Regions from separate parts of the Homo sapiens genome. Here regions 1, 3, 4, 5, 6 and 7 are each linked to region 2. Evidence: promoter capture Hi-C in 16 types of primary human blood cells and fetal thymus (Javierre and others, 2016). All regions are on one chromosome and are shown on one strand. Each heading gives the region's core, a stretch centred on a gene start or on the middle of the fragment in contact. The rest is flanking DNA. Distances are from core to core; before and after follow the strand shown.

What was found. Contacts are between HindIII fragments. The CHiCAGO score rates a contact against its expected background, and 5 or more counts as called.
Region 1: a contact is called between a fragment that was not itself captured here and the fragment with the promoter of UBR4 in region 2, in 3 of 17 cell types (total CD4 T cells, naive CD8 T cells and non-activated CD4 T cells). The highest score is 6.0, in total CD4 T cells.
Region 3: a contact is called between a fragment that was not itself captured here and the fragment with the promoter of UBR4 in region 2, in 16 of 17 cell types (fetal thymus, total B cells, total CD8 T cells and 13 more). The highest score is 27.5, in fetal thymus.
Region 4: a contact is called between a fragment that was not itself captured here and the fragment with the promoter of UBR4 in region 2, in 13 of 17 cell types (activated CD4 T cells, neutrophils, naive CD8 T cells and 10 more). The highest score is 8.9, in activated CD4 T cells.
Region 5: a fragment that was not itself captured here is called in contact with the fragment with the promoter of UBR4 in region 2 in 4 of 17 cell types (neutrophils, naive CD8 T cells, total B cells and 1 more); the score reaches 7.8 in neutrophils.
Region 6: a contact is called between a fragment that was not itself captured here and the fragment with the promoter of UBR4 in region 2, in 8 of 17 cell types (fetal thymus, megakaryocytes, naive CD8 T cells and 5 more). The highest score is 9.8, in fetal thymus.
Region 7: a contact is called between a fragment that was not itself captured here and the fragment with the promoter of UBR4 in region 2, in 17 of 17 cell types (fetal thymus, megakaryocytes, erythroblasts and 14 more). The highest score is 26.7, in fetal thymus.

The regions. Positions count from the first base shown.
Region 1 is chr1:19,713,243-19,716,111 of GRCh38, reverse strand. All of the region lies in intron 13 of TMCO4 (transmembrane and coiled-coil domains 4), which reads left to right. Among named protein-coding and RNA genes, the nearest start is that of HTR6, 50 kb to the right of the region's middle. The HindIII fragment of the contact is 6,575 bases long and covers 1-2,869 here.
Region 2 is chr1:19,208,861-19,211,560 of GRCh38, reverse strand. It overlaps UBR4 (ubiquitin protein ligase E3 component n-recognin 4), which reads left to right and starts at 1,295. Exons shown (of 106, transcript NM_020765.3): 1 at 1,295-1,488. The coding sequence starts at 1,313. It overlaps EMC1-AS1 (EMC1 antisense RNA 1), which reads right to left and starts at 1,175. Exons shown (of 2, transcript NR_135114.1): 1 at 1,002-1,175. RefSeq lists silencers at 211-280, 1,306-1,625 and enhancers at 906-955, 1,206-1,255. The HindIII fragment of the contact is 5,774 bases long and covers 630-2,700 here.
Region 3 is chr1:19,594,397-19,597,280 of GRCh38, reverse strand. It overlaps MICOS10-NBL1 (MICOS10-NBL1 readthrough), which reads right to left and starts at 302. Exons shown (of 4, transcript NM_001204089.2): 1 at 172-302. It overlaps MICOS10 (mitochondrial contact site and cristae organizing system subunit 10), which reads right to left and starts at 302. Exons shown (of 4, transcript NM_001032363.4): 1 at 172-302. The coding sequence starts at 235. It overlaps MICOS10-DT (MICOS10 divergent transcript), which reads left to right and starts at 449. Exons shown (of 2, transcript NR_135054.1): 1 at 449-571. RefSeq lists a silencer at 1-89 and an enhancer at 210-509. The HindIII fragment of the contact is 1,026 bases long and covers 915-1,940 here.
Region 4 is chr1:19,621,111-19,623,810 of GRCh38, reverse strand. All of the region lies in intron 1 of MICOS10-NBL1 (MICOS10-NBL1 readthrough), which reads right to left. It overlaps MICOS10 (mitochondrial contact site and cristae organizing system subunit 10), which reads right to left. Exons shown (of 4, transcript NM_001032363.4): 2 at 1,664-1,711; 3 at 228-337. Among named protein-coding and RNA genes, the nearest start is that of NBL1, 22 kb to the left of the region's middle. The HindIII fragment of the contact is 6,275 bases long and covers 1-2,700 here.
Region 5 is chr1:19,576,619-19,579,318 of GRCh38, reverse strand. No RefSeq gene overlaps it. Among named protein-coding and RNA genes, the nearest start is that of MICOS10-DT, 19 kb to the left of the region's middle. The HindIII fragment of the contact is 3,214 bases long and covers 1-2,700 here.
Region 6 is chr1:18,885,022-18,887,721 of GRCh38, reverse strand. ALDH4A1 (aldehyde dehydrogenase 4 family member A1) reads left to right here. Exons shown (of 15, transcript NM_003748.4): 4 at 1,211-1,258; 5 at 2,094-2,249. Among named protein-coding and RNA genes, the nearest start is that of MIR4695, 3.1 kb to the right of the region's middle. The HindIII fragment of the contact is 3,570 bases long and covers 1-2,700 here.
Region 7 is chr1:18,903,474-18,906,259 of GRCh38, reverse strand. It overlaps IFFO2 (intermediate filament family orphan 2), which reads left to right. Exons shown (of 9, transcript NM_001136265.2): 9 at 1-1,980. Among named protein-coding and RNA genes, the nearest start is that of ALDH4A1, 2.3 kb to the right of the region's middle. RefSeq lists an enhancer at 2,652-2,786. The HindIII fragment of the contact is 1,403 bases long and covers 741-2,143 here.

The DNA of each region.
Region 1 (2,869 bases), core at 260-2,759, 500 kb before region 2:
CTCCTGGGCTCAAACAATCCTCCCGCCTCGGCCTCCCATAATGCTGTGATTCCAGGTATGATCCAGTGCACCCGGCCTGTCCCTTTAATTCTATAGTTGAGGGTTTACCCAAATGGCCTTGCCCTCCAGGCAGGGCTAAGCCCAGAGTCCCATACTCATGGCTCCATCTCAGGGACTCCAGGGAGGGGCAGGCTTTCTAGGATGTGATCAGACCCCACTCCCAGGGCGCTCCCTCCGTCTCTAATGGGAATGGCATTGTAGGAAGCTCTTGGGGTAGGGTTCTGCCAGGGAGATGCCCGGGGCTTACATGGTCACCACAGCACCACCTGGTGGCAGCTCTCTGGTGTGCACACTTTCATAGAGGAAAAGGCCACTTCACAGCCATTTCTGCAGCCATCCCTCCTCCAATCCCAGCCCAGGGGGCGTGTCCAGAGGGTGCTTGCTGGGGAGAGTTACCGACTGCCTTTCCTTGAGGGCTCGTGCAGAACTTGGCAGCTGCTCCTATATCCTGAGAAATTTTCATGTCGTCAGTTATATCCGTCTTGTTTTCATTTGACTTGATAAGCATTTATTAGGCACCAAATATACAAAGAGTGGAAGGAACTAATATTTATCAGATACTCGCTGTGACAGGTGATTCTAGACATCATCTCACAGAACCTTCCCAATGAAAACCAGTCTCTAAAAACAATTGTTTTTAATTAGCCATGACTGGTAACCTGTGCCTGTAATCCCAGCAACTTGGGAGGCTGAGGTGGAAGGATCACTTGAGCCCAGGAGTTCAAGGCTGCAGTGAGCTATGATTGTGCCACTGTACTACAGCCTGGGTTATATACAGTGAGACCCTGTCTCTAACATGAATAAATAAATAATTTGTTTTGAGACAGTCTCATTCTGTCACCCAGGATGGAGTACAGTGACACGAACACCACCCTCCGCAGCCTCGACCCCCTCCGGGCTGAAGTGATCCCACCTCAGCACCCCCAAGTAGCTGGAACTGTAGGTGTGCCTGGCTAATTTTCAAATTCTTTTTGTAGAGGTGGGGACTTCCTACATTGCCCAGGCTGGTCTCATGCTCCTGGCTCAAGTGATCCTGCCACCTCGGCCTCCAAAAGTGCTGGGGTTACATGCATGAGCCACTGCACCTGGCCATACTTTTTATTTTTTATTTATTTATTTATTTATTTTGAGATGAAGTTTCACTCTTGTCACCCAGGCTGGAGTGCAGTGGCGCGATCTGGGCTTACTGCAACCTCCACCTCCTGGGTTCAAGCGATTCTCCTCCCTCAGCTTCCTGAGTAACTGGAATTACAGGTGCCCACCACCACGCCCAGCTAATTTTTGTATTTTTAATAGAGACGGGGTTTCACCATGTTGGTCAGGCTGGTCCCGAACTCCTGGCCTCAGGTGACCCGCTCGCCTCAGCCACCCAAAGTGGTGGGATTACAGGCGTGAGCCACTGCACCCAGCCTAAATGATTTTTTAAAAGAGAAAACTGCTCTGGAGAAAATAGGTTCTCAATCTAGGCTACACAGATTCCCATGTATGAGTAGCTGTAAAGATGAGTTTTCAATCCAGTCTTATAAAACCACCATGAAGAAAGGTTGCAGAAACAACACAATCAGAATTAGACCGTTAGTGCCCAGCAGAATGGTCTGAAGAAGCCCTCCCCACCCGCTAAGTATGTTACAGTTTTTAAAGACATAAATTTAAACTTTGAAAATAAGTGGAAGGAACAAGACATTGAAAAAAAGAATACGGAGATCTGAAAATAAATCAAATGTAACTTGTAGAAATAAAAAAATAGAGTCATTACAATGAATACTGGATAAATTAAAGTGGTTTAGACAAAACTAAAGAGAAAAATAATGAACTGGCTGGGTGTGGTGGCTCACACCTGTAATCCCAGCACTTTGGGAGGCCAAGGTGGGTGGATCAGTTGAGGCCAGGAGTTTGAGACCACGCTGGCCAACATGGTGAAAACCCGTTTCTACTAAAAATATAAAAATTAGTTAGATGTGGTGGTGTATGCCTGTAATCCCAACTACTTGGGAGGCTGAGGCACAAGAGTCACTTGAACCTGGGAGGTAGAAGTTGCAGTGAGCTGAGATCACACCACTGCACTCCAGTCTGGGTGACAGAGAGAGACTCTGTCTCAAAAATAATAATAATAATAATGAACTGGAAGATTGATTTGAAGAAATTAACCACAATGCATCATGGAGAGATAAAGAGATGGAAAATAGGAATTAAATTAAAGTTTGACATTTGCTTATAGAAATCCCCAAGAAAAAGAGAATAGGGGAGAGAGATAATTTATTGGCTGAGAATTTTCCAGAATGAATCTCTGCGCTTCAAGGAGCATGTTTTTTTTGTTTTTGTTGTTGTTGTTGTTGTTGTTGATATATTTTTAGAGACAGGGTCTTACTCTGTCATCCAGGCTGGAGTGCAGTGGTACAACCATAGCTCACTACAGCCTTGAACTCCTGGGCTCAAGCCATCCTCCTGCCTCAACCTCCTGAGTAGCTGGGACCACAGGTGCACACCACCATGCCCACCTGGATCTTGCCTAAAGGATTCTACCTGGGCTCACTCCTCCAGTTCTTTATGTGGATCCTGCCTTAGCCCAGGACTCCCAAAACCACATCCCCAAAAGCCAGCCACTTGCCAACAGCCTGCCATCATTCCCAGTGTTTCCCCCACCCCTTCCCCTTCTTCCTGGGTGAGAATTTGGAGAAAGATTCATCCTGAACTAGTGTCTTAATGGATTTAACCTGTTGCCCACTACACATGAGCCATCAGTATGTTGCAGTGTTTCAGACATATTGTGTACATCTGTGGTAGACTGATGGCAAAAAACGGCCATAAT
Region 2 (2,700 bases), core at 46-2,545:
CAGGCTGGGCGCAGTGGGTCAAGCCTGTAATCCCAGCACTTTGGGAGTCCAAGGTGGGAGGAACCTAGGACTTCGAAAACAGCTTGGGCTACGTAGGGAGACCTGTCTCTTAAAAACAAACAAAAAAAATTAAGAGTGGTGGCCTGCACCTGTATAGTCTCAGCTACTGGGGAGGCTGAGGCTGGAAGATCACTTGAGCCAGGGAGGTGGAGGCTGCAGCCAGCTGCAACTCTGCCACTGCACTCCAGCCTGGGCTATTGGGCGACAGAGCAAGATCCTGTCTCAAAAAAGGTAAAGTAGGTCATATCTTAATAAAAGTGCAGATTAATCACTAGGTACCAATTCATTTATCAGTGTTACACACCAAGAACAAAAGCTCTTCCTAAACTTAGGGGGAGAATTTCAGGGCTTTAGGAATTTGAAACCGTCTTCACAGTTCCTTCCCAGTCTTATTTAGGCCAGCTGTAGGCCACAGGCTAGAGCTTGAAGCCGTCCACCAATATCTCACTCACAGGACTGTCCTTAATGCACGAATACCTTTCCTCGAGCAAACTGCTTTTCCCTCTTAGACCTTGTAGCCAGATCATTTTACCGGCAAAAGTCTCAGACATCTCCTGTGAATAAAAGCTTACATTCTTTCCTTGCCAGTAGAAAAAAGGGGAACACGTAAGCATACGTGGCAAATTGCAAAGAGGGATGCATTGTACGAGCTGGTCAGATTGTTAATGAGGGCAATCCAAACAGAAGAGATTTGAGTGCTAAGGGAATACGGATCAGTGATTAAAAGGTGTTGTGAGAGGGAGAAATCTTTGTAAACTATGGCGCTCTTTAGTATTACTATTGGGGGGATCTAGGCAGGGGAAGAAGCAGGTGAAAGCGTTTTAGGCTTCGGCCTCCTCTTGTCGTCCTTAGCTGTCCCAGGCCAGGGCCATTCTATACGCCGAGGCGTAGTCAACTCTGCTGCCCTAGACTTGCCCACTGAACCCATGCCCCAGACTCACCTTTACCCGCTGCCCGGAAGCCAAGTCGCTACCACCTGCTTGAGCAACTCCCACCGCGCAGGCTCAGAAGTTAACGCTCTCCCGCCTTTCCCCGCTGCGCTACCTTCTGAGCAGGCGCAGCGTCTCCGATCCGTTCCCTCGCCGCGGCTCGACCCCGGTGAGAGCAAAGGCCGCTCCGCGCGTCGCGTTTTTGACCCATGACGGCGGCGCGCAGTCTGACGCGACAGATTGCGTCACTTCCGCCCCCTCCTGGGAGGCGGCGCTGGGCCGGTGGCAAGCCCCCGGAGGGAGCCGCAGTAGTACGACGGAAGATGGCGACGAGCGGCGGCGAAGAGGCGGCGGCAGCGGCTCCGGCGCCGGGGACCCCGGCAACGGGGGCGGACACGACCCCGGGCTGGGAGGTGGCTGTGCGGCCCCTGCTGTCCGCGTCCTACTCCGCCTTCGAGATGAAGGAGTTGCCGCAGCTGGTGGCCTCAGTCATCGAGAGGTACCGGGCGGCGGCTCTGGCGGGCGACGCTGTTGTGGGGGGAGGGGATTTCGAGCCGGATCGTCTGGACCCGCTTTCCGGGCCGCCCCCTGCCCCCTTGAGGATCCCCGCCACAGCCACGGCTTCGGGGTCCCGGGCCCGGGGAGACTGGCTTGCCTGGGTTTCCCTCCGCCAACGCATGTAAATCACCTCTACCTCAGTTTCCCCTCTCGAGCAAAACTTTAGCGGCCTCCCTGCGGGAGGGCGTGGCCGGACATGGTTGAGAGTGAGATGCATTCGCCCTCTTAAGGGAATGTTCACGGGGCTGCCCCTTGGGTCAAGTCACAGATGAGTTTGCATTTCTCGCCCGCACTCATCCTCCTAGCCTGGGCCGGAGCGGAGCCGTACGGTATAATTTAATAACGGTCTCCCCGCGGTGCTGTAATCAGTGGGGGCACGTGCTATTTCTGTGACTGAAGCCACTAGCTACATTGATGACCTCTTTTTACGTTGCACTCCTTGTGCATTCCTACTGTATCGGTCTTTGATTAAAAACATTTCAGTGTGTGTCTGAGAGATCATTTTCCCAGAGGATGTGTGGTGTGTGTGTTCTCTTGCTGCCTCCCATCCCCCTCGCATTAAAATATCATCACATTCTTTTACAAACGGTACTATCTGTTGGTTTCCTTTTGTGTGTTTTTGTCTTTTTGCACAGCGATTCTTAGCTAGTGACAGTTATGTAGGTACAAAGATGGTGATCTCAGAGTGCCTGCCTTTTCCTGACATACTGTGCTCAGAGCAGTCTTTCATTAGTTTAATGGTAGACTTTTGCTTTTAAAGCCAGACTGACTTTCATTTTTCTAGCCATACCTCATTTCAGCAACTCCCTGCAATTGTTAACTGGGTCATTTTAGCTTCACGATGACAAGGGTATATCTAGCTGCTATCCAGAGGTTAAAAATTGCTATTTGTTACTCAAAGGAGGCCCACGGTTTGACAAATTGTTTTTGTGCTTTTTCTTGTTGTAGACTTGTAATCCTTTGGATGCAGAGTTTTTAACAAATTATAATAAAATAATGGTTGAGTTTGGTAACTTCACAGTCAGCTTTACAGACGGATTTTGCTATCTAATCATCAGGCCAGGAATGTTCTGAAGATGTAAACAGGTTTCAAATATACTACTTTCAAATTACGTGGCTGCTTTTTGTTTTAAACATTTGGATTGGCAGTATT
Region 3 (2,884 bases), core at 178-2,677, 390 kb before region 2:
CGCCCGAGTGACCTCCCGCCGGGGCCCGGGCGGCTCGCCCTGGCCGGAGGGGCCGGAAAAGGCCGAGAGGCCTGACCTCCCGTGGGGCTTCCCTTCCTTCCTCCTGGGCAGCGCAGCCTGGAGCCAGCAGCTCTGCACCGGCCGGGCCTGCTGGGGCGAAAAGCCCCTTACCTATCTTCACGACCGCATCCGCCAGACACCGGTCCCACTTCCTGCCGAGCTCCGACTCAGACATGTTCCCCACCCGCGCCTCCAGCTTTCCTCTCGGCCGGCCCCCGCGCTCCGACCCCTGAAAGTCTCGCGAGAGCTGGAAACAAGTCCCAGGTCAGGAAGGCAGGCGCAGACGCTCCAGATATCGCGAGATGATCCGCTGCTTCCATCCCTTCCGGTTTTTTCAGTTGGTCGTCAAGGTGACGAGTTGTCTGGAGGCTCGAGGTGACCCTGACCTTGGGGCTGCGCCTATGGGTTTGCGAGGCTGACAGTTTCCTAGGCGTCACCCCAAGCCGTGACCAGGCCTTTCCTCCTCACCAAAGTGCGACATTGGCCCTGGAAATCCCCCGGGCAAGAGAGGGTACAGACTTGATTTATTCATTCATTAACGTACTCACCTTCACTTTCCCTACTCACTCTCTCATTCGTTCACTGGTTTCTTGCATTGGAATTCCCGCCTGAACCACTAACACCGAAACTGCTCTGGGAAAGATTACCTACCGCCAAATCAAATGGACTCTTTTCTGACCTCTGTACCGCATTCCACACAATTTTCCCTCCCTCTGATCCTCCCTGGCTCCTCTATTCGTTTCACTCCCGGTAACGCCACTCTTTCCTCTTCTCCCCATCTGCTGTTGTCTGTTGGTTTCCTCCAGGGCTGCCTTTTCTCTGCCAGCTGTTTAAGGACTGTTGGTTCGCAAGCTTCCATCAATTCTCTTTTCACTGTACAGACTCTCCCTGAGTAATTGCAAACACTGCCAAATTATATCTCCAGGTAAAACGTCTACCTCAGGCCTCCTATCCATGTATATATTTACACACCCACCCACACACACACACACATACACATACATACACAGGGTGCCCTCTGTATCTGTGGGTTTTGCATCCATGGATTTAACCAACCATGGACCAGAAACATTTTTGAATCAAATAAAAAATAATGCAAAATTTAAAATACAGTACAACTATTTACCTAGGATTTACATTGTATTAGGTATTATAAGTAACCTAGAGATGATTTAAAGTATATGGGAGCCAGCGCAGTGGCATGCGACCGTAGTCCCAGCTACTTGGGAGGCTGAGATGGGAGGATTGCTTGAGACTAGGAGTTCGACTTCATCTCTTTAAAAAAAAATAAGTAATTTTAAAAAAGGATATGTAAGCATGTGTGTAGGTTGTATGCAAATACCACGCCATTTTATATATGGGACTTGAGCATCCTGCATTTTGGTAACTGCGAGATCCTGAAACCAAATGCCCACAGCTATCAAGAGAGATTGTATATCCAGCCTACTGGCTAGTGTCATTGATTTTAGTCTTCCATCCTACCAACAAATAGAAATCTGACCACGTTATGCCTCTGATTAGAAGCTGTCAATGAAGGCCGAGAGCAGTGGCTCACACCTGTAATCCCAACACTCTGGGAGGCTGAGGCGGGAGGATTGTTTGAGGCCAGTAGTTCAAGACCAGCCTAGGCAGCATAGTGAGACTCCTGTCTCTACAAAAAATTTAAAAAATTAGCCAGGCTAATGTGATGTGTGCCTTTAGTCCCAGCTACTTAGGAGGCTGAGGTAGGAGGATCACTTGAGCCTGGGAAGTGGAGGCTACACTGAGCCATGTTCATGCCACTGCACTCCAGCCTGGGCATCAGAGTGATACCCTATCACAAAAGAAAAAAAAAAAAAGCTGTCAATGACTCCCATTCATACACTGGATCTATCCAAGCTTCAACACTGCACTGATTCTAGGAAGCCTAGTCAGATAGAGCTTAGAGCTGCCTTCCCCTTCTCATTGTCCCACTACCCTGCCTACCCGCATTGATTTCTCTATCTAGTACTGAAACATCTGGTTGTAGATATTATCTGCTAGTAGAACTAGAAGTTGCCCCTTCGTCTTCATACTTCCAGTCAGAGCACAATGCCTTGGATAGTAGGGTCTTCTATGAAATATTTGTTGAACTGAATTGAATTTATTCACCTATTTATTTGTTTATTTATTTATTGAGAGAGAGTCGCGCTCTGTTGCCCAGGCTGGAGTGCAGTGGCACGATCTCGGCTCACTGCAACCTCTGCCTACTGGGTTTGAGCAATTCTTCTGCCTCAGCCTCCAAAATAGCTGGGATTACAGGCGCCCACCACCACGCCTGGCTAACTTTTTGTATTTTTTTAGTAGAGATGGGGTTTCGCCATATTGGCCAGGCTGGTCTTGACTCCTGGCCTCAAGTGATCCACCCACCTTGGCCTCCCAAAGTGCTGGGATTACAGGCATCGTTCAACTATTTATTTGCAACTATGACAGCAAAACTCTGTTGTATCAGATCTTGCTACGACAGCCTCTTCCTTCAAGATAACTTCTATGACCACCCTTCCCTTCTCCTAGTTCTCTATTTTTTTAAATTATTCTTTCTTTTTTTTTTTTTTTTTGAGACAGAGTCTTGCTCTGTCACCCAGGCTGGAGTGCAGTGGCATGATCTTGGCTCACTGCAACCTCTGCCTCCCAGGTTCAAGAGATTCTCCTGTCTCAGCCACCTGAGTAGTTGGGATTACAAGCACGTGCCACCACCCCCAGCTAATTTTTGTATTTTTAGTAGAGATGGGGTTTCACCATGTTGGCCAAGCTGGTCTTGAACTCCTGACCTCAGGTGAACCACCCACCTCAGCCTCCCAAAGTG
Region 4 (2,700 bases), core at 75-2,574, 410 kb before region 2:
GCACATGAGTATATATCTGAACGTACATACGCATCTGAAGGCACAGGGGAGACTTTAGCACCAAAGCAGTGATGACATCACTGAAGGCCAAAGAGCAATTAGTATCTGAGAGTGGTGCCACAATGACACACATGGTTTACTCATTACAAACAGTCTAAAGAATTCTTCAGGGCTCAGGAGAAATCTTTTTCTTCTGAAGGAAAGAGAAATATATATTCTGTACATACTTTGACATATTTTCCATGTAGAAGATATGGAGCCTGGAAATCATGCTGACAGTTGGAATAAGCCATTCCTAATCCCATGCCAGAACCGAAGGCTAATGGCCACATTCTTCCTAGTGAGCAAAAAAGGGAAAATCCCAATAGGGAATTATTAAGAGAAGATAAAGCTCCCCATCCTCTTAAATACATTTACTTAGGGTTCAATAAATATTCAACGTGCATCATACTAATGACTATAATAACCATACATTTTTATCAATGTTTCACAATGGCCCCAAAAAAGAGGTGTAAATTAGTGAAGTTATTAATTTAGCAAATACTTGTTAAGTGCCTATGCTGATAAGTTTGAGGAAAATAAGTAGTAAAGGCCAGGCGCGGTGGCTCACAACTGTAATCCCCGCACTCTGGGAGGCGTAGGCGGGCGGATCACGAGGTCAGGAGATCGAGACCATCTTAGCCAACATGGTGAAACCCTGTCTCTACTAAAATACAAAAAAATTAGCCAGGCATGGTGGCGTGTGCCTGTAATCCCAGCTACTTGGGAGGCTGAGGCAGGGGAATCGCTTGAACCAGGGAGGCGGAGGTTGCAGTGAGCTGAGATCGCACCACTGCACTCCAGCCTGGCGACAGAGCAAGACTCCGTTTCAAAAAAAAAAAAAAAAAAAAGTAGTAAAATATGAAAACACTAGATAAACCTTTTAACTTCTCTATATCAGTTCTAATCATCTGCTCAGTTTAACTAATATCTTAGCCAGTAAGATGCATGAATTCTAAAAAGATGTAAGCATTTTACCGATATTTACATGCTTTGATTGTAGTAGTAAGTCATGGGGTTTATTTAAGCCACTCTGTAAGTGATTCTTTCATATCAGCACTATGTGTTAATTATGATTCTCTAGTCAAGTATTTCCCACTGGTTCTTCACGGAAAGAGGTCAAAAGGATCCCTCTGGCATCTATTCGGTATCCAAACTTCAGAAGTTCTTCCACAGAATGAAAAGAATATTGCCTGCCCTTTGCTTAGGATAATTTTTGACCAAGAAGTATGTGTATTTCTGGTCTACTTGTTTCTATTACCAGCAGGATTCTCATTTTCAATTCCTCTAGAAAAAATCACAATTAATTAGAAATATCTGAGCGTGTAGACTTGGCCAAATGACTCACTGGCATCAAGTACAGGCTTTTGCAATGATATCATATTTAGGATAACAGGCACCCTGCCTCAGTGCCCAGGGGAATGCTGGAGATGCCCAACCCATTTTGACCTCTTTCAAGTCCACATTCTTTATCTAATTCATTTTATAATGGGCTACCTAACCCCATAAATGGATGGGTTGGCAACCCACAAATTGATGGGTTCCAATGTGTCCTCTGGAAGTGTCCCTGCTACGTATATGTATACACTATGACATTATGTTGAAAAGACAGAGTGACACTTACTTTTAAAGAAGGTAAGTGAGAAAACAATTCCTAATCCAAAACCAGTACCTACAAAGAGGGAGAAAAAACATGCTAAATCTCATAGCAGTAACTTCACAAAGATAACATTAACATTTCTTAAATGTGAACATCATTAAACAGATTTTTTTTCATAATTTGGTAGAGAATTAATTTTCTAATTTCTAACCGTCTTTATTTGTCAGAGGTTTTACAGATGCCTTTGGTTCTCCTGCCCAACATGAAATAAAAACTTGACTCCCTGTTCTCTCTAGACAAGTTGCGGGGTGTGGGGCAGGGGAACAAGCCAGGAGACTGTTCTAGAGTGGACCCTCTCTACACTGCTGGCAAGGAGCCTCCAGCATCCTGGGCTCTCCTACCCACCTCAAAGAGGGATACCACAGCCAAAACATGAGATAGTGCCAACAGGACGCTCCCCTTGTCACCTCAGCACTTGGAGTGATGGCTACTTTTTGAGGAAGATAAAAAGCAGTAATCCAGAACAATTCCTAAAGGCTGAGCTATCACACAAGCCAGAATATCTAGGCAGAGGAAAAAGACGGCCCTCCAGAGCCCCAGATGAAGAAAATGACTTGCCCAAGGATATTGTTTAGTTAGTTGCGGAACAGTCATCTGGGCTCAAGTCTGCCAGACTCCAATGCTACTGTACCTGCCATGTCCAGATGTTGGATTCCTCTCCAGTTTCAACCCCTAAACAATTACTACCCCTCAAGGGAAATTGGAATGTCAAGATTTCTACTGCCAGTGAAATACAGCCAAAATATGACTGTGCTCCCCATACAGCTCAGAATGCTAGACAACCTGGGTAGTAACAAGTCTTCACAAAGCCAAAAGGGCCTGTTAGATTCATTCCCAGACCAATCCTACCGCACAAGTCACAGACACAAGAAGTTGACCTGGTAGGTGTGATTCAAGAACCTCAGGGACATGGAAGCCATTGATACTGATATTCCTTGGCAAGACTCTGCTGTTGCTTGGTTTATAAAATGGTACAGGGTTCAATTTTAAGGCGACTTGCC
Region 5 (2,700 bases), core at 143-2,642, 370 kb before region 2:
ATGAAGTGTTTCAAGAAAGACAACATGATTAACTGGGCCAAATGAAAGAGGGTGGAGAAGTGGCCATTGGTCTTAACATCAGAAAGGTAATTTTAGAGACATTGACAAGGACGGTCTCCATGGAGTAGTTGGAGCCAAAGTCCAAATGCAGTGTGTTTGAGAGAGACTAGGAGGAGAGGGGCTGGAGGCAGCAAGTGCACACAATCTTTTCTAGAAGTTTATTTCCAAAGAGGGACGAAAAAGGGCAATAGTTTGAGAAGGGGTGGGTTTGACAGTGGGTTTTTTTAGAATGGGAGAACTTGCTCATGTTTGTATGTGGATGGGAATGATTCAGTAAAGAGGGTAAAACTGATGATGCAAGAAGAGAGAGGAGGGCCAGGCACTGTGGCTCATGCCTGTAATCCCAGCACCTTGGGAGGCCGAGGTGGGTGGATCACTTGAGGTCAGGAGTTCGAGACCAGCCTGGCCAACATGGTGACACCCCGTCTCTACTAATAATACAAAAATGAGCTGAGCGTGGTGGCAAGTGCCTGTAATCCCAGCTACTTGGGAGGCTGAGGCAGGAGAATCACTTGAACCCAGAAGGCAGAGGCTGCAGTGAGCTGAGATCGCACCACTGCACTCCAGCCTGGGCGATAGAGGAAGACTCTGTCTCAAAAAAACAAACAAACAAACAAAAAAAGGATAAAAGAGGCCGGGCCTGGTGGCTCACGCCTGTAATCCCAGCACTTTGGGAGGCCAAGGTGGGTGGATCATGAGGTCAAGAGTTTGAGACCAGCCTGGCCAACATGGTGAAACCCCATCTCTACTAAAAATACAAAAATTAGCCGGGCATGGTGGTGCATGCTTGTAGTCCCAGCTACTTGGGAGGCTGAGGAAGGAGAATGGCTTGAACCTGGGAGGTGGAGGTTGCAGTGAGCCGAGATCGTGCCACTGCACTCCAGCCTGGGCGACAGAGTGAGACTCCATCTCAAAAAATAAATAAATAAAATAAAAGAGAAAAGAAATGCCGAGACTTTCTATTCCAGAGGGCTAGAAGTAGAAGGTTTATTTCTAAGAAAAGGGAGAATGCTAGACATCTGGAATTTCCTCTCCATGGATGCCTGGGTCTCTGGGGCCCAACTTTTAAAGTTGAACACTTATTTTTTGATGTGGTTAGAATCCCTGAGCCCAAAATATGTTCCCAAGAGTATTTAATTAAATGGGAATCTGGTGTGCATCTGTGACTAATTAATGCTGATCAAAAACAATTAAATATTAAATGTCAGTGGTTTCTTACCTGGTTTCTTACCAATAATTGCAAAGGGCTGAATGCAATTATCAAGTCCTGACCTCCATAAGAGCCAAGTTCACATTAAAATAATGAACGACTGAAACAGAGCCAATGAAAGAGCAGATTTTGTGAATGTTTTAAAAATTGAAGCAATGAAATGCTAATCATCAGGGCAAAGGTATTAGTCAGAGTTCTCTTCCTCAGCCTATGGATGTAGAAGGGTCCTCTCTCCAAGAGAAAGAACGGAAGCCCCGCTTAGCAATGTAGCAAACATTTCTAACAGTTCTCCTTATAGTAAAATGTTTTCATGTGCTGATAACTGTTATAGGATATAAATATATATAATGATGTAATTCACTCAACAAGTATTTGATGAGGACTTGATTTGGCCAGGTTCTATGCTAAGCTCTGGGAATAAAGAAACACTGAAGAACTCTCTATCTTCAAGGTCTAGTCTAAATACCCTAACACCCACCATTATCAGAACCACCTGGTGTGTGTTGCCCTTTCCCTCTCTGGTTCAATTAGTATGATTAGGGGCTGCTGTTGTCTCCTGGTTTCCTAAATAATATACATATTTTTAAATTTATTGTACTGCTTATTTTGGAGTGATTTTAAAAGATGGTAGCAGAAATGCCTTTATTGTGCCATCTTGAAGCTGGCAGGCCCCCACGCCCCTCGTGGTCCTGGTGAAAGGTGAGACACATCAAGTGGATCCCACAGATGAACTGCTTCTTCCCTTTGGGAGCAATGTGGGGGATTGAAGAACAAAGACCAAAGGCAGTGGCGTGGATCCATATGGTTGTTGAGAGCCAGAAGAATGAGTCAAGCCCAGCAGATCATCCAGCAAAGACATGGGTGGAGGATAGAAACCGTAATGTAAAGCCAAAACAAAGTCAGCTGAGAACCAAGAAATTTATGAACAAGGAGTAGCAGAGTGGAAAAACGAGGTAGTCTGGGAGGATTCCAGAGACAAACTGGGGATGTTGTGGCAACTTTATTTTTTTATTTTTTTGAAATGAAATCTCACTCTGTCACCCAGACTGGAGTGCAGTGGTGCAATCTCGGCTCACTGCAATCTCTGCCTCCCGGGTTCAAGCAATTCTCCTGCCTCAGTTTCCCGAGTAGCTGGGGCTACATGCGCGCGCTACCACGCCCGACTATTTTTTTTTATTTTTTGTATTTTTAGTAGAGATGGGGTTTTGCCATGTTGACCAGGCTGGTCTTGAACTCCTGGCCTCAGGTGATCCTCCTGACTCGGCCTCCCAAAGTGCTGGGATTACAGGCATGAGCCACAGTTCTGGGTCTCTTGTGGCAACTTTAAATCTCACCCCTGCGCTGACTTGAATATGCTGCTCAGGTCATTTCAGGGGATTGTGGTGGTCGAACGGCCTGATGCTATATCCTCCACTGGCCATTTCTAAAGT
Region 6 (2,700 bases), core at 17-2,516, 320 kb after region 2:
TGGCAGGATATTGATAAGATGTTGTTATGATCAGGTGGTTTGGCCCTCTCCGGTGGGATGTCATCGTGGTGTTCCTTGTACCTTTACCCAGCAAGATATGATAGGGATGGTTTTTTTTTTTCTGAGACGGAGTCTCGCTCTGTCGCCCAGGCTGGAGTGCAGTGGTGCGATCTCGGCTCACTGCAAGCTCCGCCTCCCAGGTTCATGCCATTCTCCTGCCTCAGCCTCCCCAGTAGCTGGGATTACAGGCATCCGCCACCACGCCCAGCTAATTTTTTGTATTTTTAGTAGAGAGAGGGTTTCACCATGTTAGCCAGGATGGTCTCGATCTCCTGACCTTGTGATCCGCCCGCCTTGGCCTCCCAAAGTGCTGGGATCACAGGTGTGAGCCACCGCGCCCGGCCAACAGGGAAGTTTCTTTAGGTGGGCCTTCGTCCGCCTTGCGGTCAGGCGGCTGAGCCGGATGGTTCTCATGGCCTGAGCTCCTGTGAAATGTTTCACTTGGCCCGAGGTCTGCAAAATAGCGGGGAGCTGACAAAATGGTGCGGTTTGGACCAACACCAGGTTGTGTTTATAAATGTTTGTTGAGGATCTTCCTATTTAGATTAGTAAATCTGGGGCTTAGGAAACAATTGCTCTGTCCATGATGGCTTCGGGGCAGGGCGGAAGTCCCAAGCATGTCACAACACCGGTGCATTCTTTTGGGCCTCACCTGGTTTTGTTGCCCATAGTCGCAGCCTCATACTGGACCAAAGAATTTTCATCCATGATCCCCTTTGGTTCTCCTGTCCATGCTAAGAGACAGGGAGGGCAGTCCCCATTTCCTAGATGAAGAGACTTAGGGAAGGAAGTGAGCTTACCTGGGGCCCCACAGCTAGTAGGTGGCAGAGCCAGGATTCGAACCCATGTCTCTCTGACCACAAAGGTCCGTGCTTTCCTGGAAAGACCCTGGGGTCTATGCCTTTCTCCTGGACTCTGAGCCTTCTGGAGAAGGAGCCATGTCTTACTCATGGTATAGCGGGTACACCAGCACCCTTAACAGGGAGCAACCTGTGGGCCGGGCACTGGGGAGGGTTTCATGGGAGCGGGGGAGGGGGGACAGCAGGCGTGTCCAGGACTTTCCTGGAAAACCGGCTCTGAGTCCAGTCCTCTTCATCCTTATCCTGGCACCTCCCTCCCGGGCAAGGACCTCACTCTTCTCTCCTTTCAGCCTTTTAACCATGGACATAAGGTGGCCAAGTTCTGTTATGCAGACAAGGTGAGTGAGCCTGTGTGCCTGGTGACCCGGGGTTAGGGTTGCTGCCCCTGCTCTGCCCTGCCAGCTGCTGATATGGCGGGGGCAGGGGGCATCAGTTGCTGTGTCCTTCTTTGGCCATGGTGGGTAGGTGGGCAGGGGGTGGCTGACACTGAGGGAGTCCCTGGGTGATGTCTTTGACTGGGCCAGGCATACAAAGGTTAACTTGAGCCAAACACAAGCTGCCTCAGCCAGGGCTGAGACATTCCCAGACATGCCCATTGTGGTGGGGCAGACCTTGGACTGGGGAGGAGGTGGATTCTGGAAGGCTGAGTCAGGGCAATTGGAGACACCATTGATGGAAAGCTAGGCCAAGAATTGGCACTGGAAAGGGCCAGCAGGAGGGGCTGGGGTGGCTGGGGGTCCAGGAACTGGCATTGTGTGGCGATGAGGGCAGTTGGGGTCTGGGAGGCCAGCAGCAGAGCCGTGTCTCAGGCTCCAGTTGACCTCAAGTTTCTGGATGGTGGGTTAAGGGGCACCAGGTCCCAAGAATAAGGTAAGGTTTTGATTAGACCATGAGAGAAAGTGGAGCCAGTGTAACAGCTGCGGGACTCAGTGCCAAGGCCTCGGAGAGCTGACCAACCTGGCCGGGCCCTTCAGGCTTCAGACTGGCAGCCACTACAGGCTCTGATGGGACGCTGTTGTTGGCAGCTATGGTGGCAGGGGGCTGAGGGCCCAGGGAGACAGGCATTGTCCCCGGATGGAAGAGAGTGGCCTCCCAGGTCTCTCCTCCCTCGCTCACTCCCCAGGGCCTTTCCCGCTGCAGGTGGCAGTCCCCAACCTCTCCCTCTCCCTTTAGAGCCTGCTCAACAAAGCCATTGAGGCTGCCCTGGCTGCCCGGAAAGAGTGGGACCTGAAGCCTATTGCAGACCGGGCCCAGATCTTCCTGAAGGCGGCAGACATGCTGAGTGGGCCGCGCAGGGCTGAGATCCTCGCCAAGACCATGGTGGGACAGGTGAGGTGCTGGTGGGCCCGGGTGGGTGGGGCGGGGTGGGGTGGGAGTCAGGTGTGCCCTACCCATGGCAGCAGACATCAGCTGAAGCGCTTCTGGGTCCTAAGCCCTTTTGGGGACCCAGAGATGTCCTCAAGGGACAAGGCCTAGGAGCTGGGATGGATGATCACAGATTATTAGGCGAGACAGATTGTGCAGAGCCCATGTGTCCTGCCTCGGAAATGTCCCCTCTCCTCCATCCCTCTGTCCTCGCTCCTAGGCCTTTGTCATGCTTTGCCTGGACTGGTGGTGGCCTGCACTGTCTCCCTGCCTCCTAGCTTGGTCAGCCCCTCGCCGCCCTCAGAGTGGTCTTTCCAACACCTCCAGGATGTTACTCCTGGCTTATGACCCACCCAGACCTCTCCACCACTGAGAGGCAAGTCCCAAGACCTGAGCCCCATACCCAGGGCCCTTC
Region 7 (2,786 bases), core at 193-2,692, 310 kb after region 2:
TAGGGTACTCTAGGGAGTTTGAAAACTGCAGGAGCCAGAAAGAGATCCTGGCCTGAGAGTCCCTTCTGGCTGGCTTTTAATATCTGCTCTCCTCTTGGGAGTGAGGACTTGGGGCAGGTGGGTAGGAGAGGGAAAGCCAGAGTGTGATGGGCCTGCCTCCTGGGCTGGTTCCTGGGTCCGGCCTGCCTGCCTGCCTGCCTGCCTCTCCACCACATGCTTTTTTCAGTTAATGTCAGTGGGCCCTGCTTGTCCCCTCACCATGAGCCCACAGCTTGCCAAGAAAGACCCCAACGCTCGCTGGGGCAGCACCAGTCCTAGCTGGGACGAATTGGTCCATCCTTTGTAAAGCTGTAAATACTTAATTTTGACTTTCTATTTCTAAGCCCAGTGTCATATTGACACTGGTATTTTAGAATTTTCTCAGATGGGCTCTCCTGCGCTGCCCTCTGTCTCCTGTTTTTGGGGGTTTTATACAAACAGAGGATTGGGGAGGGATAGGAAGACTAGCATCCTTTTGGCTCCCTGGTTGGTTGTGAAATACACACACACACACACACACACACACACACACTCGCACTCCTCTGAGACTCCGAACAGAGAAAAAAATTATTGGCAAATCAACACATTTTTCTTTCTCGTCTTGAGAAAATGTCTTGAGGTCCCTGAAGGGCCAAATCCATCGTGGACTAACTCTGTGGGTAGAGCTCAGATGACCTAGGGAGAATTAAACCACTTAAGCTTGGAGTGGGAGGAGAGGGGGTGGGGTGGGGGAGAATATAAGATGTAACTTAAGCTAAATGTAATCTATTTATAAAGCAAGAGACTCTCATCTATTTTTATGAAAGGAAGGGTTTTTTAATCTAGGGTAGGCAGTTGTGGTAGCCCAGCATTTTCCTGTGGACGAGACATGGTGCATGTTGTTGCTGGATTGAATGGAACCCATTCCTGTCCCCCGGCCTCGTCTTCTGTCCTCACTTTTGGTCATCCACACCCATGAGCAGCTTCAGCAGAGTGTAGGTCCCACTTCACCCCATTCTCCTCTCCTCTGACCCCTCAGCTCCTTGGAAGTCTTGGGGTGGGGATCTGAGGGGGTGGGTGGGCTGCAGGAAATTCAGAAATGTGGTGGGTGGGGGAAGGGACAAGGCGCATTAGGGAGGGAACAAGCTGGGCTCTGGGGATAGGCTCTGATTAATTAGTTACTCTGACTCTGGTCTGCCGAGATCCATTTCCAACCCAGTTGCGTTGGGAGAGGGTTGGGAGGCAGCAGAGCATGGGTGACAGTGGGAGCACACGACTTCCTTGGAGCCTGGGCCTTTGCGGGTCCCAGGTGGTCAGGCAGCTGGAGCAGAAGTGGAAATGGCTTAAGATGCTCATAGCCCAGCCCCGGCTGTGTCTACTCCAGGCCAAGCCTGGGCTGCAGTCCTTGCTATGTTCCCCCCAGGGCCCTGGGGGGAGGGATCAGGGTGCTGGGGGTTTCCTAGGACAGGGGTCTTCCCCCTTGAGACACCAAGCTCTGGCTCTAGAAGAGCTCTCTCCTGGAGTGGGGAGTCTGGAGGGGACTGGGTGGGTGCAGGTAAAGCCAGATTCTCTCTGGAAGGGAATTTTCTATGAATGGATGATTTCCAGGCTCAGGGTGGGCTGTGTGTTAGTTCTGAGCAAATCCCTCACCAAGACCCTTCCCTCCCAAGCCCTCAAAGAAATGAGGCAAAGCCCTTCCCTGCAAGACCCCTTGTGGATGTTTTTGCATCTACCTGATTTTTAGCCCCACCCAGGGAGACTTTATACCCCATGATCCTGCCCCACCGTTGCTGTTGTCTGCCAGCTGGGTCTAGCATCACAGGGAAGGGGGGGATTTATACTCATGGAAAGACTACTGATCCTACCGGAAACCAACCTGTTTACTGTACTGTTGTAAATATCATGCCCTTTATATCCTGTATATTGGCTTCTTTTAAATAAAGTGAAATGTCTTAGAACTGATGGTGCTTTTTTTTGTTTTTGTTTTTAAACAGAAGATGAATCTGGTGTTGGGGGAGGGGTAGGAGGACGGAAGGCCACAGAAACCCTCAAACTCATTAGTTAATTAGCCATAAAATAGGGGATTTCATATCACCTGTTACATTTGTAGCTCACAATAAAAGCTTTGGAAGATGACAAAGCAGGAATCATTACACACATTTTACTGAAGGGGAAGAGAGGACATGAGACATCACAGGCTCAGTAACTGGCTTGGCCTGGTTTGGAACTGATGTCCTTTTAACCACAAAGCCCCCATTTTTCCAGGCTCTCCAACGTGCCCACAGGAGGTCACCTTCCCAGGCTCTGGATTTGACAGTAACCAATGTTCTAGTTTTTCTTGTCAATGGGCATGTTCAGGGCAACATTGCCCAAATGTGAACTGAGCCCACCTGTCTAGGGTTTTCTCCAAAGGTGAAGACAAATAGCCGCCACCAATTCCAATTTGCTTTTTGCCATTCCTAATACTTGGCATTTAGGTAATCTCCCTCTCCTACTCTTCATTTAAATGTTTACATTCTCCCAAAGTACCTCAAATGGTGTAATCTGGAGAAAAATAAGTGGCTTAAGATCACGGGGGCTTTGTGAGTTGGGTACTATTACTTCCGTTTTACAGATGAGGAAACTGAGGCCCGGAAAGGATATGTAGTCTGCCTAGTGCCCTGCTTGAGGAACCAAAATCAGCATGGGAACTGACTCCTAAGCAGGTGCGCGGTTCATGCTGCTGGAAGAAATATAAACAAATTAGAACAGAGAGTAAGGAAACGTAA